Regions from separate parts of the Homo sapiens genome. Here region 2 is linked to region 1. Evidence: promoter capture Hi-C in 16 types of primary human blood cells and fetal thymus (Javierre and others, 2016). All regions are on one chromosome and are shown on one strand. The core of a region is centred on a gene start or on the middle of the fragment in contact, and the rest is flanking DNA. Distances in the headings are between cores, read along the strand shown.

The links. The method cuts DNA at HindIII sites, captures the fragments that hold promoters and counts their contacts. A CHiCAGO score of 5 or more calls a contact.
Region 2: a contact is called between the fragment with the promoter of BTN1A1 here and a fragment that was not itself captured in region 1, in 1 of 17 cell types (megakaryocytes). The highest score is 5.8, in megakaryocytes.

What each region holds. Positions count from the first base shown.
Region 1 is chr6:26,263,452-26,269,403 of GRCh38, forward strand. No RefSeq gene overlaps it. Among named protein-coding and RNA genes, the nearest start is that of H3C8, 5.0 kb to the right of the region's middle. RefSeq lists an enhancer at 5,494-5,952. The HindIII fragment of the contact is 2,510 bases long and covers 1,278-3,787 here.
Region 2 is chr6:26,497,185-26,503,474 of GRCh38, forward strand. It overlaps BTN1A1 (butyrophilin subfamily 1 member A1), which reads left to right and starts at 3,119. Exons shown (of 8, transcript NM_001732.3): 1 at 3,119-3,174; 2 at 4,046-4,181; 3 at 4,406-4,753. The coding sequence starts at 4,103. The region is part of intron 1 of LOC107986583 (a long non-coding RNA gene); the gene reads right to left. RefSeq lists an enhancer at 4,408-4,537. The HindIII fragment of the contact is 5,298 bases long and covers 425-5,722 here.

The DNA.
Region 1 (5,952 bases), core at 1,283-3,782:
CGTAGATATCTAGTATAATGAAATCTCAGAAAATGTTACAGCATATAAAGCCTTGTAAAGATTACATTGGTTTCTTTCATGTGAAAAGTAAAATGATAGCAATTTTGCAGATCTCTTATTTTTTATTTTAAATAAATTATCATATAATAATACTCTTTCCTTAACTACTGGTATCCTTGAATAAGGCGAGCAGTCTTCCATGGGGTTAGCACTCATTGCTTATCTTTTCCTGCCCCTGCCTCTTGATTCACTGTCTTAACTGAATGTCCTTGGGTATCTGGAGCAACACGTTTGAAAAATTAAAATGTATGAATCAGGCCGGGTTCAGTGGCTCATGCCTGTAATCCCAGCACGTTGGGAGGCCAAGGTGGGGAGATCACCTGAGGTCAGGAGTTCAAGACCAACCTGGCCAACATGGCGAAACCACATCTCTACTAAAAAAAAAAATACAAAACTTAGCCAGGCGTGCAGGCACCTGTATTCCCAGCTACTTGGGAGGCTGAGGCAGGGAGAAGTGCTTGAACCTGGGAGGCGGAGGTTACAGTGAGCCGAGATCCTGCCACTGCACTCCAGCCTGGGCAACAGAGTGAGACTCTGTCTCAAAAAAAAAAAAAAAAAAAAAAGAAGGCAGGGCGCGGTGGCTCACTCCTGTAATCCCAGCACTTTGGGAGGCCAAGGTGGGTGGATCACCTGAGGTCAGGAGTTGGAAACAAGCCTGACTAACATGGCAAAACCCCATCTCTACTAAAGATACAAAAATTAGCTGGACATTGTGGCACATGCCTGTAATCCCAGCTACTCAGGAGGCTGAGGCAGGAGAATCACTTGAACCCGGGAGGCGGAGGTTGCAGAGAGCCGAGATCGTGCCATTGCACTCCAGCCTGGGCAACAAGAACGAAACTCCGTCTCAAAAAAAAAAAGTATAAATCAGTACTGAGTTACCTGGAAATTCCAGCTTAAGAAAAACAAAGGCCCTGGTTTTATGTAGTTGGCTATCAGAACAATGTCCATAGCCCAAATATGCACCCAACTCAGGATCCATGAATCAATGTTTCTTCTCTCTGGTATGATCTTCCTACAGCTGTATAAAGAACTCACTCTCTTCTCTGCTCAGTCTTGTCAGGACCAAGAAAAATCTTCGCCTTCACCCTCTGAAGTTTTTCTCAAAAATCAATTACCAAAAAACAGATTAATAGGAGAGAAAGGCACACAAGTTTATTAACATGCAGGAGGGAGAACCACAGAGTAATTACCCCAACCCCAGCAGGGGGTACAGAAGCTTAAATGCCATCTTTAGGTTAAAGAATGGGGACTCAGAGCATGGCCAAAAACAGGTTAGGGTGGTCAATCATGCAAGACAGGTTATGGGAGGGCTTTGCTAACAAAGGTGGTCTTGTTATGTAGATGAAAACTCATAGGTAACAGCCCTCAAGAAGAATACATATATAGTAAATGTTTCTTTCAGACCTTTAAAGGTGTCAGACTCAGATTTTTTTTTTTTTTTTGAGAGGGAGTCTCGCGCTGTTGCACAGGCTGGAGTGCAATGGCACAATCTCGGCTCACTGCAACCTCCGCCTCCTGGGTTCAAGCAATTCTCCTGCCTCAGCCGCCTGACTAGCGGGGATTACAGACGCCCACCACCATGCCCAGCTAATTTTTGTGTGTTTAGTAGAGACGGGGTTTCGCTACATTGGCCCAGGCTGGTCTCTAACTCCTGACCTCAAATCTGCCTGCCTCGGCCTCCCAAAATGCTGGGATTACAGGCGTGAGCCACTGCGCCCAGCCTGGTGTCAGACACTTAATCTTTCCTAGATTGGACAAGGTAAAGCCTCAGAAAAAAACCCTGGCAGCACCAAAGCAGGTTTTCTCTACAGATGCACATCTCCACAAAAGGCAGCTCTGCAGGGCAACTTCTGTTTGCAGACCCTCCAAAGAGCCATCTCAAAATATGTCAAAGAAGTATACTTGGGGATGAAATAGTTGATTTCCTTCAGCCTTGTTGGCCTAAAAGAAAGATGCAGAGGCACAAATCATAACTTAAAGAATTTATGGCCGGGCGCGGTGGCTAACGCCTGTAATCCCAGCACTTTGGGAGGCCAAGGAGGGTGGATCACGAGGTCAGGAGATGGAGACCATTCTGGCCAACATGGTGAAACCCCGTCTCTACTAAAAATACAAAAATTAGCCAGGTATGGGGGCATGCGCCTGTAGTCCCAGCTACTCAGGAGGCTAAGGCAGGAGAATCACTTGAACCCAGGAGGCAGAGGTGGCAGTGAGCCGAGATCGCACCACTGCACACCAGCCTGGGTGACAGAGCAAGACTCCGTCTCAAAAAAAAAAAAGAATTGGCGCCAGGAACGGTGGCTCATGCCTGTAATCCCAGCACTTTGGGAGGCCGAGGCGGGAGGATCACAAGGTCAGGAGATGGAGACTCATCCTGGCTAACATGGTGAAACCCTGTCTCTACTAAAAATACCAAAAAATTAGCCGGGCATGGTGGCGGGCACTGTAGTCCCAGCTACTGTGGAGGCTGAGGCAGGAGAATGGCGTTAACCCAGTGAGCCAAGATCACACCAGCCTGGGTGACAGAGCAAGACTCTGTCTCAAAAAAAAAAAAAAAAAAAAGAATTTACTTGAGCCAAAGTCAGCACAGCAGCTCAGAAATCTCAGGCCCAAGTAATCTTGGATATGAGCTCCACTGGCCTTTGTTAAAAATAGGTTTTTAAAGGCAAAAAAGGGGGGACAGAAGGTGGGCTGATACAAAATTTTTTGTCAGGAATTTTCCTTGGTTTACAGAAATAGCATTAATTAGTTATTGGCTATACATTGTAAAGCTACAGGGTGTGGGTTACAGTGTGGGATGTGGCATTATTAGATAAACTTATAGCTACTTATAACAATAACAAGCAGTATCTAGAGATGAATACATAGCTCAAAGAGGGGAGTAGGTTGTGATTGCTGTCTCATTTTAATGTTACTGTGGGCCTGATAATTTAAAATGACTCCCATTCCTCAGATGAAAGTTATTTTCTTGGCCTGGTGTGGTAGCTCAGGTCTGGTAGCCCCAGCACTTTTGGAGGCCAAAGTGAGAGGATCCCTTGAGCACAAGAGTTTGAGACTTGCCTGAGCAACATAGTGAAGCCTCGTCTGTACAAAAAAAAAAAAAAGTTATTTTCTTTTCCCAGTCTTATCTCAGTTGTGAGTTCTTCCCCATCCACCATTTTTAAAATTACAGCTGTCTACCACATTCCCTCCTGTCCTCTGGCAGTCATTCCCTTTATCCATTTTAACTTTTCTACGTCTTTTTTATATAAGAATATACTAAACTCTTTTTTTTTTTTTTTTTTGAGACAGAGTCTCACTCTGTCGCCCAGACTGGAGGGCAGTGGTATGATCTCGGCTCACTGCAACCTCCACCTCCCAGGTACAAACGATTCTCATGCCTCAGCCTTCAGAGCAGCTGGGACTACAGGTACGTGCAACCATGCATGGCTAATTTTTTGGTATTTTTTAAGTAGAGATGGAGTTTCGCCATGTTGGCCAAACTGGTCTCGAACTCCTGACCTCAAGTGATCTGCCCACCTGGGCCTCACAGGCCATAGACTTTGTGTAACTTGTGTTTCTTTCTCCTAGATGCATCTTCAACCTTGGCAAAAATAAACCTGTGAATCAGTGGAGATCTGCTCGGTCACTTTTTGGTTTACACTATTGGGGAGAACAAAAGAAGTACAGAAAAGAGCTTTCACTCTTATGGGCCTGGTGATGCACCAGAAGATTCTATAAAGCAAGCTTTACTAACTACCCTTTATCTATGTTTGCTTTCCCCAACATTGCCGCCCCTGGACACTCAAAGTACTTCTCCTTCGTCTTCTAAATTATCTAAAAATTCACTGTTCTTTGTTGAAGACACTACACAAAAGCTGGAATTCAAAGCCACCTCAATGTGTACTCATTCCCTAGGTGTCATTCATGTATATGTAATATATATGTTAATACACTTCTGCTTGTTTTTCATTTGTGAATCTGTCTTTTGTTACATGGGTTTGTTTCAACTAAGAACCTGTGTGAGGTGGGAATTGAAGGGAAAATTATTCTGCCCTTTCTCCACCTTCATTTCCTACTGTCCCCTGCTCATTCCCCATAGTCACCATGGTGCCTCAGGAGTCTCCCTCCTTTTCTCCCTGAACACATCCGCACAGGTTGCTTCCTCACCTTTCAGCTCTTTGCTGAAATATTATCTTCTTAGTGGGGTCTTCATTGGTTGCCTTATCTAAATTTCAGCTTCCCATGACACTCCTTAGTCTTGCTCTATTTTTTTTTCCTTCTCACCATCTAACATATTACATAAACATATCTAGTTTATTTTCTGTCTATTCCAGACTCAAATGTAAATTCCATGAAAGCAAAAATTTTGTGTTTTGTTCTCTGGGTGTATTTCCAATGCACAGACCAGCATCTGGTACATTGTAAATTCTCAACCAGTGTTGTTTGCAGTAAATAAAAATCAATGTTGAAGAAATATGTCAACCAAAATGGATCATATTAAATTTTTAAAAAAGAAATACTATTTGTTATAAAAGTAATGATGGCATCATAATTTATTTTTGTTTTTATTTTTGAGATGGAGTCTCGCTCTGTCACCAGGCTGGAGTGTAGTGGCATGATCTTGGCTCACTACAACCTCCGCCTCCCAGGTTCAAGAGATTTTCCTACCTCAGCCTCCCCAGTAGCTGGGATTACAGGCGTGCACCACCAGGCCCGGTCCAGCTAATTTTTATATTTTTAGTAGAGATGGGGTTTCACCAAGTTGGCCAGGTTTGTCAAGAATTAACCTCATGTGATCCTCCCACATCGGCCTCCCAAAGTGCTGGGATTACAGGAGTGAGCCAAGGCACCTGGTCCATAATAAGGTGTTAAATAGCAGATAACATATATAAAATAGATGAAATGATATTGAAATTGTCATTGCAACATTGTAACTGAGACAAAGAGATCTGACCTAACCAACTCCATCTTGCTTCTAACCTTCAAGCTGTCCTTGTTCACTCCTGGGTGTAGGCTGAACTACCTTTGGGAGGAACTTAGTTTATAGTTTAAAACTAATATGATAACAGCCCTTTCCCAAAACAAACCTCCTTGCCTGGGGACTAGACTGCCTTTGTAGGACTAACAAATTACTCACAAGATTAGAAATTATGGTTTAGGGGTAGGTCGTAATGGCTCACGCCTGTAATCCCAACATTTTGGGAGGCGAAAGCGGGTGGATCACTTGAGGTCCAGAGTTCGAGACCAGCCTGGCCAATATGAGGAAACCTCGTCTCTACTAAAACTACAAAAATTGGCTGGGCATGGTGGCGCGCGCCTGTAATCCCAGCTGCTTGGGAGGCTGAACAGGAGAATCGCTCGAACCTGGGAGGCAGAGTTTACAGTCTCCATCCTGGGCAACGCAGTGAGACTGTCTCAAAGAAAAAAAAAAACACACACATTATGGTTTAGGAGTCCTGCAGCTGGAACCTACAAGATTCTGACCCCACGTAAACTGCTCCTAAGATCAGTGCTTGAGATATTTTGCAGACCTGATGGATCAGTTGGCCCCACCCAGATTGGTAAACTGACTCATCCGATCTTGTGGCCTCCACCCAGAAACTGACTCAGCCCAAGGAGACACCTTCAGCTCCCTATAATGACATCTCTGACCTGACCAATCAGGACTCCTGGTTCATCGGCTTCCCCCCCATCTGGAATGCTGGGGAGACTGATTTGAGTAACAATAAAACTACGGTCTCCCGCACAGCTGGCTCGGCGTGAATTACTTTCTCTATTGCAATTCCCTGCCTAGATAAATCAGCTTTGTCTAGGCAGTGGGCAAGGTGAACCCATTAGGCAGTTTCATTATTTGCTTTACAAAAATCAATAGATAAAACACTTAGCCAATGTTGTTATTGAAGCTGG
Region 2 (6,290 bases), core at 1,869-4,368, 230 kb after region 1:
TGGTTTCTGTCAAAAAGACCCAGATGCTATCCAATCAAAATAGTGTCTGTTATGCAATAGCTTGAGCTCCAAGTACTTTCTTCTTCTTTCCCCCAGACCCTTTCTTTTCAGTATGGCTCCGTTAGTTGCAAGTAAAAGCTCTTTTTCCCCCCTGAAAACAATGTCTTATGAGAATATGAAGCATGAGACAAAAGTATCATTGAAAGGGGCTGATAAGAGAAGTGAAATGAGGAAGGGGAAATAGATTATAGGTGATATGATCAGAAAGTTAAGCATGAAGAGGAAAATGGGACAGGAGCCTTTCAAACTAGGAAGGCTAAGGAACGATGGGTTTGAATGAAGCCACAAATTCTATTTCAGTCTATGTGCTGATGAGAAGACAGGGAGTAAGAACTAGGAAAGCTCAGTTTAAGAGGGGAAGACAAGCTTGGAAACAAAAGATGACAATAAACACATCTGCTTCTGAAACTAGGGCTCAGATCAGGTGTCTGCCATGAGAAAGGGACCAAGTGTCACAGGATACACCTGGCCCATCTTCCAGGAAAGCCTACTTCTCTTGGAGGGGACAAAGGCTAATCAGGAGAAGCCCTAGAAGTGAGGTTGCATCTGCTTGATGCAATGTCTGAAAGACATTGCAGAAGGTGCAGCCCTTACATGAGCTTTTGAGGGAAGAATAGGAGTTCATCATAAAGATAAGAGGGAACAGGCTAGTCGCGGTGGCTCACACCTATAATCCCAGCACTTTGGGAGACCGAGGCGGGTGTATCACTTGAGGTCAGGAGTTCAAAACCAGCCTGGCCAACATTGGGAAACCCCACCTCTACCAAAAATACCAACAAAGCCAGGCGTGGTGGGGCACGCCTGTAGTCCCAGCTACTTGGGAGGCTAAGGCAGGAGAAATGCTTGAACCTGGGAGTCAGAGGTTGCAGTGAGCTGAAATTGTGCCACTGCCCTCCAGCCTGGGTGACAAAGTGAGACTCCATCTCAAAAAAAAAAAAAAAAAAAAGTTAAGAAGAGACAGAATATTCTGGAAGGGGGAAGGCAAGCACTGCTATCTGGAGGCCTGAGAGGCATTGTGGGTTGAGGTAACCACACCCACTCCAAATTCAGCCTGTGGGTGGACAAGCAGGGAAGGAGAAGGGGAATGGAGAAAAAGCCCTCAGGAAAGAAGCAAGGAGACTGCCAGAGTATTTTCTTGACCAGATCAAGCTAGACCTACAGTATTTTCCTAACCAGATTAAGGTGCATAAACTTGATGCTGAAGTCACTAGGGAGATGTGGAAGGATTTTTAAGCAAAAAGTGATATGATCAGATTTGCATTTGGGAAAGATCATTCTCTTGGCAGTCTGGTGGGTGAAATGGAGCAACTGTCTTTTGTCTTAATCACAATTCCAACTCAAAGATAAATAACAAAACTGGGAAGAATGTTTGTTACAAATATAATACAGGATTGATATTTTTAAGTTATTAAAATTCACACAGATTGCTAAGAACTAGCACCAGGACCAGTCTTGAAAACAATGGGCAACTGGCCTGAACAGCTCATTTCTAGAATGTATTAAATGTCTAATTAACACATAAAAAACTCCAGCCTCGCTAACATATAAAGGCACAATAAATAATAATTTAATTAACTTGACCCATCCCAATAGTAAGGATGTGAAATAATAACTTCTCAGTGCTAGCAGGGATTAGGTGAGGGCACCTCCATTGAGGGTGTGATGGATTCAACATTTCAGGAAGGGACTGTAGAAATATGCTGATACTAGGTCGGGCATGGTGGCTCACACCTGTAATCCCAGCACTTTGGGAGACCAAGGCAAGCAGATCATTGAAGCTCAGGAGTTCGAGACCAGCCTGGCCAACATGGTGAAACCCTGTCTCCACTAAAATACAAAAATTAGTTGGGCATGGTGGCACGTGCCTGTAATCTCAGCTACTCAGGAGGCTGAGGCAAGAGGAAAATCCTTTGAACCCTGGAGGCGGAGGTTGCAGTGAGCCAAGATTACGCCACTGCACTCCAGCCTAGGCGACAGAGTGAGATTCCGTCTCAAAAAAAAAAAGAAAAGAAAAGAAATATGCTTATACCATTTGATCTGATGACTCTATTTCTGGAAATTTATTAAACAGTTTATCAGGACATTATCCAATTTGCAAATAAAGACTTATATATAAAGTGTATTATTTACAATAGGAAAAAAATCCCAAATGTCCCACAATCATGGCAATTATACAACTATTAACAATATTTTGAGTTACACAAAAAGTCTAATTGATTGCTTTTATGATATACATAAGCATAAAATAAATCTTGGAAGGACTATGCCAAAATGTGAATTGAGGCTATCATTAGTTAGTAGATTAAGTGTGACCTCCATTTTATAAAAATATTTTTCTGTATTTTTAAATTTTTTCATAACAATGAGAGGTAGGTTTAGTATAAATTAAGGAATTGTAGGCCTCATGATGAGTTGCTTCAAAAGAAATAATTGTCAGGGAGGCAACTTTTGGGCCCTGTAAACAGAATTCACAGCCTACCCTTAAGACTGGCCTTTAATGGAGTTGTTCCAACAGACACAGCACCTAAGGTGGACGGACGCTCCAATAACGAAGATGGCTATAGACAGAGGCTACTGCTACCTTGGCCTCTGGGCTTTCATTTTTCAACCCGCAGAAATAATAATAGAATAACAATTTATCCTCCGCTGAGTTCCTACTATGTGCTAAGCACTTTACCTGCTTAATCTCACTTAATCCTCCCAACACCTCTTCAAGAAAGGTATGATCAATATTATTACCATTTTAGAGATCAAAGAACTGAGGCTTGGAAAGAGGAAATAACTGGCTGAAGCCATCACATCTCATTTGTGTGTTTCCTTGCCTCTCTTCTCTTTTTCTCTTTTCTGCCTTTCATTTGGTCCAGCTCATCAATGCATATCTTGATTTCTGAGCTGAAGACCACAAATCCAGTTTTCCATCTCTCTGAAAAACTTTTCATCTCCCTTTTTTTTTTCCTCAGAGTGAATATACCAGGCCACCTGGAGGCAGGCTTTCCTGAGAGCACCTCCCGCTTCCTTTTCCTGCTGGCTTTTAACTTTTGCCCCGGGGGCCACAGCCAGCTTTCTCACTTGGTAGCAGTGGCCTCTTGTGCCTTTTTCTCCAAGATCACCCAGGTCAGTATGTGTGGTTACTCTCAGCTCCCTGAGGGAGTGAGCAGCCAGAGGGGCATAGCATACTTCTCTCCCTCCAGCTCCTTTCTCCTTGGTCCTAGGCCCTCTACTCTTCAAGCCCTTTTGCTTGCTTCAGCTCCTGCTTCTTGCTCCATCTCCTCCCATCTTTTCTCTCTTCTCCAATTCATTTCCTTGGACTCCATTTCTGCCTTTATACCCTTATCTTTATTATCATTGCCAAAAGCAAATACCAAATTCTTGTATTTGAAAAAAGACTTTGGCCAGGCACGGTGGCTCACGCCTGTAATCCCAGCACTTTGGGAGGCCAAGGCGGGTGGATCACGAGGTCAGGAGTTCGAGGCCAGCCTGGCCAACGTGGTGAAACTCCGTCTCTACTGAAAATACAAAAAATAGCGGGGCATGGTGGTGCGCGCCTGTAGTCCCAGCTACTCCGGAGGCTGAGGCAGAACAATCGCTTGAACCCAGGAGGCTGAGGTTGCATTGAGCCGAGATCATGCCACTGCACTCCAAGCTGGGCAACAGAGCAAGACTGTCTCAAAAATAAATAAATAAATAAATAAAAAGGAGACTTTTTTTTTAGTGCAGTGATTCCAAGATTTGTTCATCGATATGCAACCAACTAATGAGTGTTATGCCTCACAGTTCCCTTCTCCTAAGTTTTAGAGTTAGAGTAGTGGGTGGGAAGGTGATAACCACAGTGTAAACTAAAAATCCATACTGGGGATGGAGGCTGAGAGGAGGTTTCAGGGGCAAATGACCAGAACACTTGCAGCTGGAAAGAACTGTAGAGAGGACTTTGGAAAGCGGAGGGTTGACAGAGCCGGTAGTTGTCTCCTGTCCATTCATCTCCTAGGCTGAAGCTCCTGAGGGGACTCACATCAGTTATCTTGCTGCTCCAGAAGGGTGGGAGATGGCAGTTTTCCCAAGCTCCGGTCTCCCCAGATGTCTGCTCACCCTCATTCTCCTCCAGCTGCCCAAACTGGATTCAGGTAAGTCTCTCTCTCTCTCTGGGCTGCATAGTTGAAATATATCAATAAATGTAAAATAAACAATCCCACTTGGCTCTCCCTGGAGACCTCCACTGGATCCAGACAAACTCAGCTGTCAAAGGAGTAAGAGAGCGCGGGGCACTGCGCTTTGGCGGGAATCTGGTCGGTGTCTGTCCGTAGTTCCCATCTCCACATCCCGTCTGATCCCGCTCGTTTTTCGGCAGCTCCCTTTGACGTGATTGGACCCCCGGAGCCCATCCTGGCCGTTGTGGGTGAGGACGCCGAGCTGCCCTGTCGCCTGTCTCCGAACGCGAGCGCCGAGCACTTGGAGCTACGCTGGTTCCGAAAGAAGGTTTCGCCGGCCGTGCTGGTGCATAGGGACGGGCGCGAGCAGGAAGCCGAGCAGATGCCCGAGTACCGCGGGCGGGCGACGCTGGTCCAGGACGGCATCGCCAAGGGGCGCGTGGCCTTGAGGATCCGTGGCGTCAGAGTCTCTGACGACGGGGAGTACACGTGCTTTTTCAGGGAGGATGGAAGCTACGAAGAAGCCCTGGTGCATCTGAAGGTGGCTGGTGAGTAGACGGGTTTTGACTTTCTCCGACGACTCCCCTGCTGTATACACTTTCGTATGGATCAGTTACTTTGGAAACCATCAGATTCATTCTCAAAATCTCTTTTAGGTTGATGTCGCCGGGGAGGGACGACTATCTGGGCGGGAGGCGAGGGGGGGTAAAAGAATTTACCAAGACAGTTGTAAAGAAAGGCAGATTTACTTTTAAAAGTATGAAAATACTTTTCGAGGAGGCAAAAGGCAGGATCAGCAAAAGAGAAGCTGACTGCCAGGAAACAAAGGCTTGCTGGATAATTTATAGAATAGTTTTTATGCTGTCTGTTGAAGATGGCTTTGTGCAGTATCTATAAGGCAAAGGTTGCAGTGAGCTAACTTGCAGGTGTTTGGTGATAGTTGGACACAGGAAGGATGACTGTGAGTTATTTGCACAGGAGGGCTGTGTACTGGACCATGAAGAAAGGCAGACTTGCAGCTTATCTGCCTTATCTCTTTGTTTTCCCCTGATTAGGACTCCACAGCTAGAAGGTACTGAAGGTCCTACAGTAGGAAATCAGTGAGAAAGGGTTTTGAGTTGAACATGGAGAGAACAGTGCAATGTCTTTATTGTAGAACTTTATTTCAATTATCTCCAGCCCTTTTTCAATAATAGGGTAAGCATTTCTTCATGAAATAATTAAATACATATAAGAGTTATATAACATTCTTTTATACAAGTACACCATAATTTACTTCATCGAGTCCCTGAATTGTACATTTAAATTGTATTTCTCACCATTACACATCTTATGGCTGTGGTGAGCATACCACACACTTTAAGGCTGGCTTATGGATTAGTTTCTAAAGACTGACATCCTAAGATTAGAGAGCATGGCGGTTTGTCACATTCCTGATTCATATAGAAAAGATTCTGTTCTTGTTCCCTTTTTTGCTTCAAGCCAGAATTCAAAGGGAAACAATAAAGAAAATAATAAGCTTTGAGGAGGAAAGTACGCATTGAGGTCTGACTTTCTCAATTCCTAGTGAATGACATCAAGCAAATCTCTTTCTGATTTTTACTGTAAAACTGAGGATGTTTTTATCTAAGATTATTTTTCAAGAATAAAATAGTCTGGGACCAGTGGCCAACTCCTATAATCTCAGCGCTTTGGGAAGCAGAGGCAGGAGGATCTCTTGAGCCAAGAAATTCAAGGTTACAGTAAGCTGATGGTTGCCACTGCACTCCAGCCTGGACAATAGAGTGTGCTGTCAAAAAAAGAAAAAAAAAAAGTGGGATGTGGTGTCTCACGCCTGTAATCCCAGCATTTTGGGAGGCCAAGGCGGGTGACTCACTTTTGATCAGGATATTCAAGACCAGCCTGGCCAACATGGCAAAACCCCATCTCTACTAAAAATACAAAAAGAAATTAGCTGGGTCATACCTGTAATCCCAGCTACTCAAGGAAAATCGCTTGAACCTGGGAGGCAGAGGTTGCAGTGAGCTGAGACTGCACTACTGCACTCCAGCCTGGGCAACAGAGTGAGACTCGTCTCTAACAAAA